2 separate regions of the Homo sapiens genome follow, and region 1 is linked to region 2. The links are contacts of gene promoters, found by promoter capture Hi-C in blood cells and fetal thymus (Javierre and others, 2016). All regions are on one chromosome and are shown on one strand. Each heading gives the region's core, a stretch centred on a gene start or on the middle of the fragment in contact. The rest is flanking DNA. Distances are from core to core; before and after follow the strand shown.

What was found. Contacts are between HindIII fragments. The CHiCAGO score rates a contact against its expected background, and 5 or more counts as called.
Region 1: a contact is called between a fragment that was not itself captured here and the fragment with the promoter of CLEC18B in region 2, in 1 of 17 cell types (endothelial precursors). The highest score is 6.6, in endothelial precursors.

Annotation. Positions count from the first base shown.
Region 1 is chr16:74,632,443-74,637,144 of GRCh38, forward strand. It overlaps RFWD3 (ring finger and WD repeat domain 3), which reads right to left. Exons shown (of 13, transcript NM_018124.4): 8 at 3,904-4,135; 9 at 81-231. Among named protein-coding and RNA genes, the nearest start is that of GLG1, 28 kb to the left of the region's middle. The HindIII fragment of the contact is 4,083 bases long and covers 1-3,412 here.
Region 2 is chr16:74,418,835-74,423,345 of GRCh38, forward strand. CLEC18B (C-type lectin domain family 18 member B) reads right to left here and starts at 2,644. Exons shown (of 12, transcript NM_001385193.1): 1 at 2,313-2,644; 2 at 1,667-1,758. The coding sequence starts at 2,436. It overlaps LOC107984827 (a long non-coding RNA gene), which reads left to right and starts at 3,286. Exons shown (of 3, transcript XR_001752253.3): 1 at 3,286-3,608. The HindIII fragment of the contact is 28,054 bases long and covers 1-4,511 here.

The sequences.
Region 1 (4,702 bases), core at 121-2,620, 210 kb after region 2:
GTCATCATAACACCGATACGAATTCCATGCTACTCAACACCAAAGAGCCCAGTCTCCACCTACTTCCCCAAATCACTCACCTGGTCAGTTTAATAGTGTTGTCTAGGGAAGCAGAGAGTAGCAAGCCTCTGAGGTAACTGCTAAACGCCAGTCCACGGATCTGTTTGCCATGCATCGGAATGTACTGACTGCTCTTCATGTTGGCAGTACTCAACATCTTAACACCAAAGCCTGAAAAAGGCAAAATAGTATGAAATAGATCACTGAAAGTGAACCTAGGGCAATTCAAACTAGTTTTTCAAGTAGCTCCTTCGTCCACCTTTCTTGGCGTATAAGTCCTTGGGAACCAGCTGGTCAAACAAAAATTCTCTAGTGTTACAATTTATTCATTTATTTTTGAGAGTTGGCCAGGCTGGAATGCAGTGGCGTAACCTCAGCTCACTACAACTTCTGCCTCCCGGTGATCTGCTCGCCTCAGCCTCCCAAAGTGCTGGGATTACAGGCATGAGCCACCACACCTGGCCTATGATTCATTTAAAAAAGTACAACCCAGGCCAGGCATGGTGTCTCACCTCTGTAATCCCAGCACTTTGGGAGGCCGAGACAGGTGGATTACCTGAGGTCAGGAGTTCAAGACAAGCCTGGCCAACACAGTGAAACCCTGTCTCTACTAAAACACAAAAAATTAGCCAGGCGTGGTGGCAAGTTCCTGTAATCCCAGCTATTCAGGAGGCTGAGGCAGGAGAATCGCTTGAACCCAGGAGGCGGAGGTTGTAGTGAGACAAGATTGCACCACTACACTCCAGCGTGGGCAACCAGAGCAAAACTCCGTCTCAGAAAAAAAAAAAAAAGAAAAGAAAAAAAAGTACAACCCATGCTTGCTTCATGACAATGAAGAGAAGAAGAAAAAAAAAAAGAAAAAGTATAACCTACTCCAAACATCCAGGTAAATGGATAAACAAACCTACTGTATAAACATGTGATGGAATACCACCCGTTAAAAAGGAATTAACTACTAATATATACAATAAAAAATTATGCAGCGAGAAAGAAGTCAGACCAAAAAATGGTAACACTATATAATTCCATTTATGTAAAATTCTAGAAAATGCAAACTCATCTGTAGTGACAAAAAGCAGTGACTGCTGGGGATGGGAGAGGAGGGAGGGGCAGGTGAGATTATCAAAGGCCATAGGGAAACTTTTGCGGTAATACATATGTTCATGGCCAAGCATGGTAGCTCGCGCCTGTAATCCCAGCACTTTGGGAGGCTGAGGTGGGTGGCTCGCTTGAGATCATGAGTTCGAGACCAGCCTGGGCAATATGGTGAAACCCTGTTGCTACAAAAAATATGAGAATTAGCTGGGCGTAGTGGGGCGAGCCTGTAGTCCCAGTTACTCAAGAGGCTGAGGTGGAAGGATGACTTGAGCCCAGGAGGCGGAGGTTGTAATGAGCTGAGATCACACCCCTCCCTGCATTCCAGCCCGGGAGATCACACCCCTCCCTGCATCCAGCCTGGAAGACAGAACTAGATCTTCTGTCAAAAAAAAAAAAAATTAAAGTTATCTTGATTGTAGTCATGGTTTCAGGGGTGTATTACATATGTTAAAAGTCATCAAATTGTATACTTTAAATATGTAGTTTACTCTCTGTCAATTCTACTTCAATAAAGCTGTTGAGAGACAGAATATTTCACCAGAACCACAGACACTCCAGATGCAGAAGGAATAGTGAACAATAGAGAATGAAAATAAATAATTTGTCAGTCAAGATATGTCACATCTGTCTGAAATGAAATGAAACAGATGACATTTCAAGTACCCACATTACTGAAGTGGGGGGAAAATAACCAACAAAAACCAATAACCTTTTAAAACTTCTTGTTACTCTGTTCTCTTACTAGGCTATGATAACATTTATTTTTTACTAAGTACTTTATATATATATATATATATATTTTGAGACAAGGCCTCACTCTGTCACCCATGCTAAGGTGCAGTGGCACCATCATGGCTCACAATAGCCTCGATCTCCTAGGCTCAAGCGATCCTCCCAACTCAGCCTCCCAAGTAGCTGGGACCAGAGAGGTGTGCCACCACACCAAGCTAGTTAAGAAAAATTTTTTTTATAGCGATGGAGTCTCACTATGTTGCCCAGACTGGTCTCATACTCCTGGGCCCAAACGATCCTCCCGCCTTGGCCTCCCAAAGTGCTGGGATTACAGTCATGAGCCACTGTGCCCACTTGAGTTAAATTCTTTAAAAATACGTCAAATCCTAGATTCAAGATAGCTTCAGCTTCTCCAGGGAACCAAGCACGTGGCTTACTGTACTTTCTTCTAGCAGAATTAAGACAGCCAGAGAGGAAAAAAAAAGGGGGGAAGGGGGGCGCAGGTATAGGCTTTAAATCAACAAGGTGGCCAGGCATGGTGGCTCATGCCTGTAATCCCAGTACTTTCGGAGGCTGAGATGGGTGAATCACCTGAGGTCAGGAGTTGGAGACCAGCCTGACCAAAATGTTAAAACCCCATTTCAAATACAAAAATTAACTAGGCATAGCCGGGCGCGGTGGCTCACGCCTGTAATCCCAGCACTTTGGGAGGCCGAGGCGGGCGGATCATGAGGTCAGGAGATTGAGACCATCCTGGCTAACACGGTGAAACTCCGTCTCTTCTAAAAATACAAAAAATTAGCTGGGTGTGGTGGCGGGCGCCTGTAGTCCCAGCTACTCAGGAGGCTGAGGCAGAATGGCATGAACCCGAGAGGTGGAGCTTGCAGTGAGCCGAGATAGAGACAGCGCCACTGCAGTCCGGCCTAGGCGAAAGAGCGAGACTCCATCTCAAAAAAATAAAAAAAATAAAAAATAAAAAAAAAAATTAACTAGGCATGGTGGCATGCACCCGTAGTCTCAACTACTTGGGAGGCTGAGGCAGGAGAATCTCTTGAATCCAGGAGGCAGAGGTTGCAGTGAGCTGAGATCAGGCCACTGCACTCCAGCCTGCGCAAAAGAGTGAGACTCCATCTCAAAAGAAAAAAAAAAAATCAACAAGGTAACAGAAATACACACCGAGTTAATCATTAAGGGGAACAAGGACAAATCAACACCAGCACACTATCAAGCGGACTGGAATGGACACGTTAAGAAAAAAAGAACAGAACACATTCCCAATTTGGGGAACATTAGGAAATAGCTATTTTTCCAATTTGTTGGTTTTATTTGATGATAAATCTTTTTATTAAAAACTTAGATGGGATAAAGGAACATTATATAACCATGCTAAAGCAAAGGGGTCTTGCAGTTGGCAGAAATCTTATGCTAAAGACAGCAGAAAGAAACATCTGCAAGATTTAGAAATGATTTAATTGAGCATTTGAAAAGACTTGGTTTTCAACATTTAGAAAACCTAAAATTAAGCTTAAAAACACAAAACATGTTGAGAGAAAATTAACCTAGTATTAATAAAATAATCAATTTACTCCCTAAATTCTCTTATTTGGAAATTGTTAACTTGAACACTATTGTAAGTAAATATTAAATTTTGTTTCACCTTGAATTAACCCTTAGGGCTGTGTTTTGTCAAACATTTCCAGTCTAAAATGCATCTGTAAGTTGAGGACATATAAGTCCTTCTTGGACTATATCAGTAACCTACACTTCCAAGGACCTCACCATCTGCTTTATCATGGTTATCAGTATTTCTACCCTCTTGGTTAATAAATTTACAGAATGAAGTCAACAGACAGTAAAGACATCTTTGCAGCACCCTGGGGTACTTGCATTAACAAGGAACTAATAGGGAAAGGTGATTTGGTAACCTTTGAGTCTTGAATTTTCCAAAAGGCAAGGAAATAAATATATGGAGTCTAATAAAGAACATGAAAGCTGAGGTTCTAGACTCTTTACCTGGAAGAAAAGAGGCCTGAGGAGAAGGCTGTGATATCACCAGGCAGCTCAGAGCATCACAGTATGCCATGATCCGGCAGTTTCCTGCCTGAGATACTGTGAAGGTCTTTTGGAAGTGGTACTTGTGCTTGTGCTGGCCCTGGCTGGAGGGTGAGCAGCTCAGGACCCATGCTTGGGAGCCCCTGGGTTGCTGTAAATTCTGACTTTGATGTGACGTAAGTTTTTGCAAGTCCTAAAATGAAAAAGATTTTATAAATACAAAGCTTTTTAATTTGATATTCCCCTCAAATACAATTCCTTGATCTTTTACAGGAAGATTTTTTATCCATTATATGAAAGTGTTAACATGAATCCTAGAGAACTGCAGAGTTTTTGTTTTTTTTTTTAAGACGGAGTCTCACTCTGTCACCCAGGCTGGAGTGCAGTGGGACCATGTTGGCTCACTGCAACCTCCATCTCCTGGGTTCAAGCACTTCTGCCTCAGCCTCCTGAGTAGCTGGGATTACATGCACCCACTACCATGCCCGGCTAATTTTTAAATATTTTTAGTAGAGATGGGGTTTTACCACGTTGGCCGGGCTGGTCTTGAACTCCTGACCTCAGGTGATCCACCCGCCTCGGCCGCCCAAAGTGCTGGGATTACAGGCGTGAGCCACCGCGCCCGGCCAGAACTGCTGAGTTTTTACAGTATTTCAACAAGCAAGTGAAATAAGGAGAGCACAGAATCATAATATGAGGGTTGAAAGTCCTTAATGGTGGTTTCGTTTAAAGTCCTTTAAAAAAAAAAAAAAAAAAAAAA
Region 2 (4,511 bases), core at 1,394-3,893:
CCAGGCTGGAGTGCAGTGGAGAAATCCCGGCTTACTGCAACCTCCGCCTCCCAGGTTCAAGCAATTCTCCTGCCTCAGCCTCCCAAGCAGCTGGGATTACAGCCATGTGACACCACACCTGGCTAATTTTTGTATTTTTAGTAGAGACGGGGTTTCACCATGTTGGCCATTGCTGGTGTCAAACTGCTGACCTTAGGTGATCTGCTTGTGTCAGCCTCCCAGAGTGCTGGGATTACAGGTGTGAGCCACCGTGCCCAGCCCCCTCCCTCTTCTTAAACAAGGGGCCTGGCAATCACCACCCCTGGGTGACTTGGTGCAGTCCCCTGATCTCCCGAGACTCCCTGAGCTCATCTGTAAACGGAGCAGGGAGGTGCCTGCAGGATAGGACTCACAAGCACAGAGTGGATGCAGGGAGGGGGGCCCCTCGGGGCTGCACCCCAAGCCAACTTCATCCTGCACTAATGTCCATCGGGGTTTTACCTCTGATGAAGGCTGGGGCCAGGAGCTGGGGGCTCCCCGGGGTCCCTCAGCAGCCCTCCACCCCCACAAGACCTTCAGTCTCCACTGTGTCCAAAGAAGGGGTGCCCTGGAGCCCTAGAGGCCCGGAGGGTGCTCGGGGCCGGGCCACGAGGGAGGCTGAGCCATGGAGCTCCATTTGCACCTTTATGGAAATGAAGTTTTCTAAGACTTTGACAAAAGGGCCCTGGAAAGGGTGCCAGCTGCCAGCCAACGACCACCGCAGCCCCTCCTGGGGTCCCAGGCAGGAGTACCCAACCACGGAGGTCACAGCTGGGAGCACCCCTGGTTGCCCAGGGTCTGAGCCTGAGGAGAGGCAGAGCCACTCAGGGCTGGGAATGGGGGAGAAGCGACCCCCCGCATTTAGCCACCCCACCCCCACCTCCTGGGAAACTGACCCTAGAGTGTTCAAGGTCGCCACTGTGGCCACCTGCCTTGGAGGAGTTCATGGGAAGCAGCCATGGGGAACCCTCCCGCCCCCACCACCCTGCCCTGGCTCCCTGGCCTGCTAACATGGGCTGGGGCTGCTGGGGTCCCAGACAATGGAGGGCAGCGTTTCTGAGCCTCCAGATGACAGTCCCAACCCCGCAGCCCCAGCCGGGCTGGTGGGGAACTCTATACCCCCGACCCCTGGCCCCTGCTGAAAATGTGGAAAATGTGGACGAGTGAGTGAGCAGAGAACATGGGCAAGGCCCGTCCTAGTGGCTCAGATAAGCTCAGGAGGAGGCGCTGGGTCCTTGCCGCACAGAAGCCCCTCCCCAGCCCAGCACGACCTTCTCCCTCCCTGGCCCGGCCGCCCATCCTGCAGGGCTCCTCGTGAAGCTCCCCTTCCCTGGAGGAGGGGATCCGGCTCCTCCTGTGGCTCCTGGTCTCTGTGGCAACAAGATGCCAGGGAAGGCCCAAGGTCCTGCCCTTCAGGCGAGTGGGAGCCAAGGGGCCCGACCTCCTGAACTGAGGGTGGGGGGTTAAGAAACTGCAGAGACCCCCAGCAACCAGGGCCTCCGTCCCTCAGGGGCAAGGTGGCTGGCTGTGCCTGCCCACCCTGGTCAAGTGGAAGGGCACCTGGACAGGCGTGGCCTCCTGAGCCGCCCTCTGGGGTCCGCGCCTCCGGCCACCCCCCTGGCAGAGCCCAGCTGGGTCGGGTACTCACCAGCCTCCGCATGTCAGCCGCAGGGGGCTGGACCCAGCTGCGCAGGCGGTTGTGCAGGGAGAGGAGCAAGAAACTCTCCTTCCTGTTCAGGGCTGGGGTGGGGAGAGAAGGTCAGGCAGCCCGAGGATGGGGGGACCTGAACCCAACACACGGCAGAATAAGCATGTGTCCCTGCCCTTGGAAAACAAGATGGGAGAGGAGTGTGGTGGGTGCAGGGGACGTGGGGCATAGCAATGGAGCGAGGCTGAGAGAGAGACCAGGTACAGCAGGCGTGGGCTGAGTGCTGGGGTTGGGGTGGCGGGAGGGAACAGCGGTGCGGGCTGGGTGTAGGGGCCAGCCCTGGCTCCCGCAGGCCCCTGTCTGGGGCTCCTCCGGGCCACGGATTTCTCCAGGCCCCAGCCACAGCGCTCCTCGGCGTTCCTCCTTGACCCCAGCCCTGGTCCTCCTTCCTCCTCCTTCCTCCTCCTTCCTCCCCAGTCCAGCATCCACCCCTCACCGCCCCCGGGCTGTCCCAGGGCTTCCTCATTAAACCACCCGCACGGCCTGGGGCTCAGGCCTGGGACCGGGCTTCCAGAAGTCTCCTAGCACCCACTCCTCAGAGCTCATAATGGTGCCTCCACCTACCTCCTCACCAGGTGTCCCTTACCTCCGGCCATCGGAGCCTGCTCCTGCAGCTGGGGTGGCCACACCTCTGCCCAGGTGGTGCCAAGGAGGGCCAGGAGCACAGCCAGGAGATGCCCCCGGCCAGGGGAGGTCTCTGGATGCAGCATGGGTCTGTTGGGCCCGTCAGGCGCTCCGTGCACAGCCTGGCTCAGCCACCCGGCTTGTTTCTCAGGCTGGATGGAGCTATTCACAATCTCCAGGAGTCAGGCTGGGCTGGTGGACAAAAGAGGGGGGCTGGTGAACAAAAGAAGGAGGCTGGTGAGTGAGTAATCAGTGTGTCCAGACAGCCTCCTGTTGGCGCTGGCATGAAAAGAGACAACTCCCGGGGATGCCTGCCTGCTCCGGCCTCGGCCTGGCCAGCCCGCCCCCGACAGCAGGCAGAGTGGCGTGCACTGCCCCGCGGCCCCTGCTAATCATTGTGGGATTATTAGCACCCTTGGGGAGCCCCCAGAGACCCCGCTGATTGGCCTGGGGACATTCCGGTGCTGCAGATTAGTGACCGATGGCCGTGTCCTGGCTGGGACAGTGTCCTCCGAGCCCACTGATGGCTTCCGCTCCCCAGCCCCGGGCCCTGGGAGGAGGACCTCGGCTATGGTCCTTCTGGTGAGCAGGAACTGGGCAAGACCCCAGGGGAGTTCTTTCCTTTCTTGGGAAGCTCGTCCCAACCCCCCAGCCATGAATTAAACATAGGCAAGAGGTAACCGCACACCAGAGGGGTGCAATCTGTGGGCTCAAAGGGGGGTGGGCTGAGGCCGCACCTGCACGAGGAAAAGGGTGCCTTAGGAAAGTCTGTCTGGGCAGGGTCGGGGGCTGGGCCCAGCCCCGGTGCCCACCACCCTCACCCACGTGACTACAGGCCAGGGGGGGAGTGAGGCAGGAGGAGTCAAAGCAGGCGGGGACCAGAGCACGTGATGCCCTGGGCTGACTCCAGTCCTGCTGGGATCACGTCCGCCTCTAGAAAAACAGGCGGCGTAGCAGGTGGGCAGCACGTTGCCATGATGTGCCGTGGCCCGGCCGTGGCTGGCGTGATCCCACCAGAGTGAGCTGGAGCAGATCTGCACCATGGGCCAAGTTTCTCAGAAAATACATGGCTTCCTGCGGGCTGCAGCCTAATGCCCACGTTCCTCTCGGGGCAGACCGAAGGTTATTCAACCAGGGCAAAGGACAGCCTTGCAAACCAACTACGTCCTCCTTCTGGAGTTTGTGTGACCCCTGGCCCCTGAGCCCACACCCTCTCGGAGCGGGGTTCCAACTCCGTGGAAGCTCTGCTGAGATGCAGGTAGGGTTGGCTTTCCTGGGGAAACACCAGTGGAATGTGGCTATCGTCATGGGTGCCAGGGATGGGGATGAGGCCAGGCATACAGGCCATGAAGGCGGTCTGGAACTGCATGTCCCCCACAATACCTAGGGGCTCAGGAGTTTCTTCTCCCTCAAACAGAAACCCAGCACCCTCAGGGTCACTGCGTGTGGGTCCTAGCAATGCTTAATAGCTACCTGTTTTTTGATGTATTTTTATTTTTATTTTTTAGACAGTTTCATTCTGCCACTCAGGTTGGAGTGTTATAATCTCAGCTCACTGCAGCCTTGACCTCTTGGGCCCAAGTGATCCTTCCACCTCAGCCTCCCAAGTAGCTGGGACCAGGTGTGTGCCACCATGCCTGGCTAATTATTATTATTTTTTTTGGTAGAGACAGGATTTCATCGTCTTGCCCAGGCTGGTCTCCAACTCCTGGGCTCAAGGGATCTTCCCACCTTGGCCTCCCAAAGTGCTGGGGTTGCAGGCATGAGCCACCACACCTGGCCGAGCCACCTGTGTTTATGGAGCTCACAAAGCCTGTTTGCATGTGTGAGTTCAAGTTATTGCCACAAGAACCTGGTGCAGTAGCAGATGGGATGCCCGTCGTGTAGATGAGGAAACGGGCTTAGTGTGTCTAAGGGGCTTGTCCAAGGTCACTCAGCGAGTGCATGGAGCATCCCAGCTAATCCAAGGTCTCTGCCTTCCCATTCCCAACGCTTTAATTCACATCCTGATCTTTCCCAGTGCAGTTTCCACAGCTCTGCTATGCCGGGTGATAAAAGACCCACTTCCTACAATTGGGCTTCCATGGCAAACACGGCCAGTTGACCCATATAGTATGATGCCAGGCACTTGGGACAGGCGGGAGAAAAAGATATTTTGGGG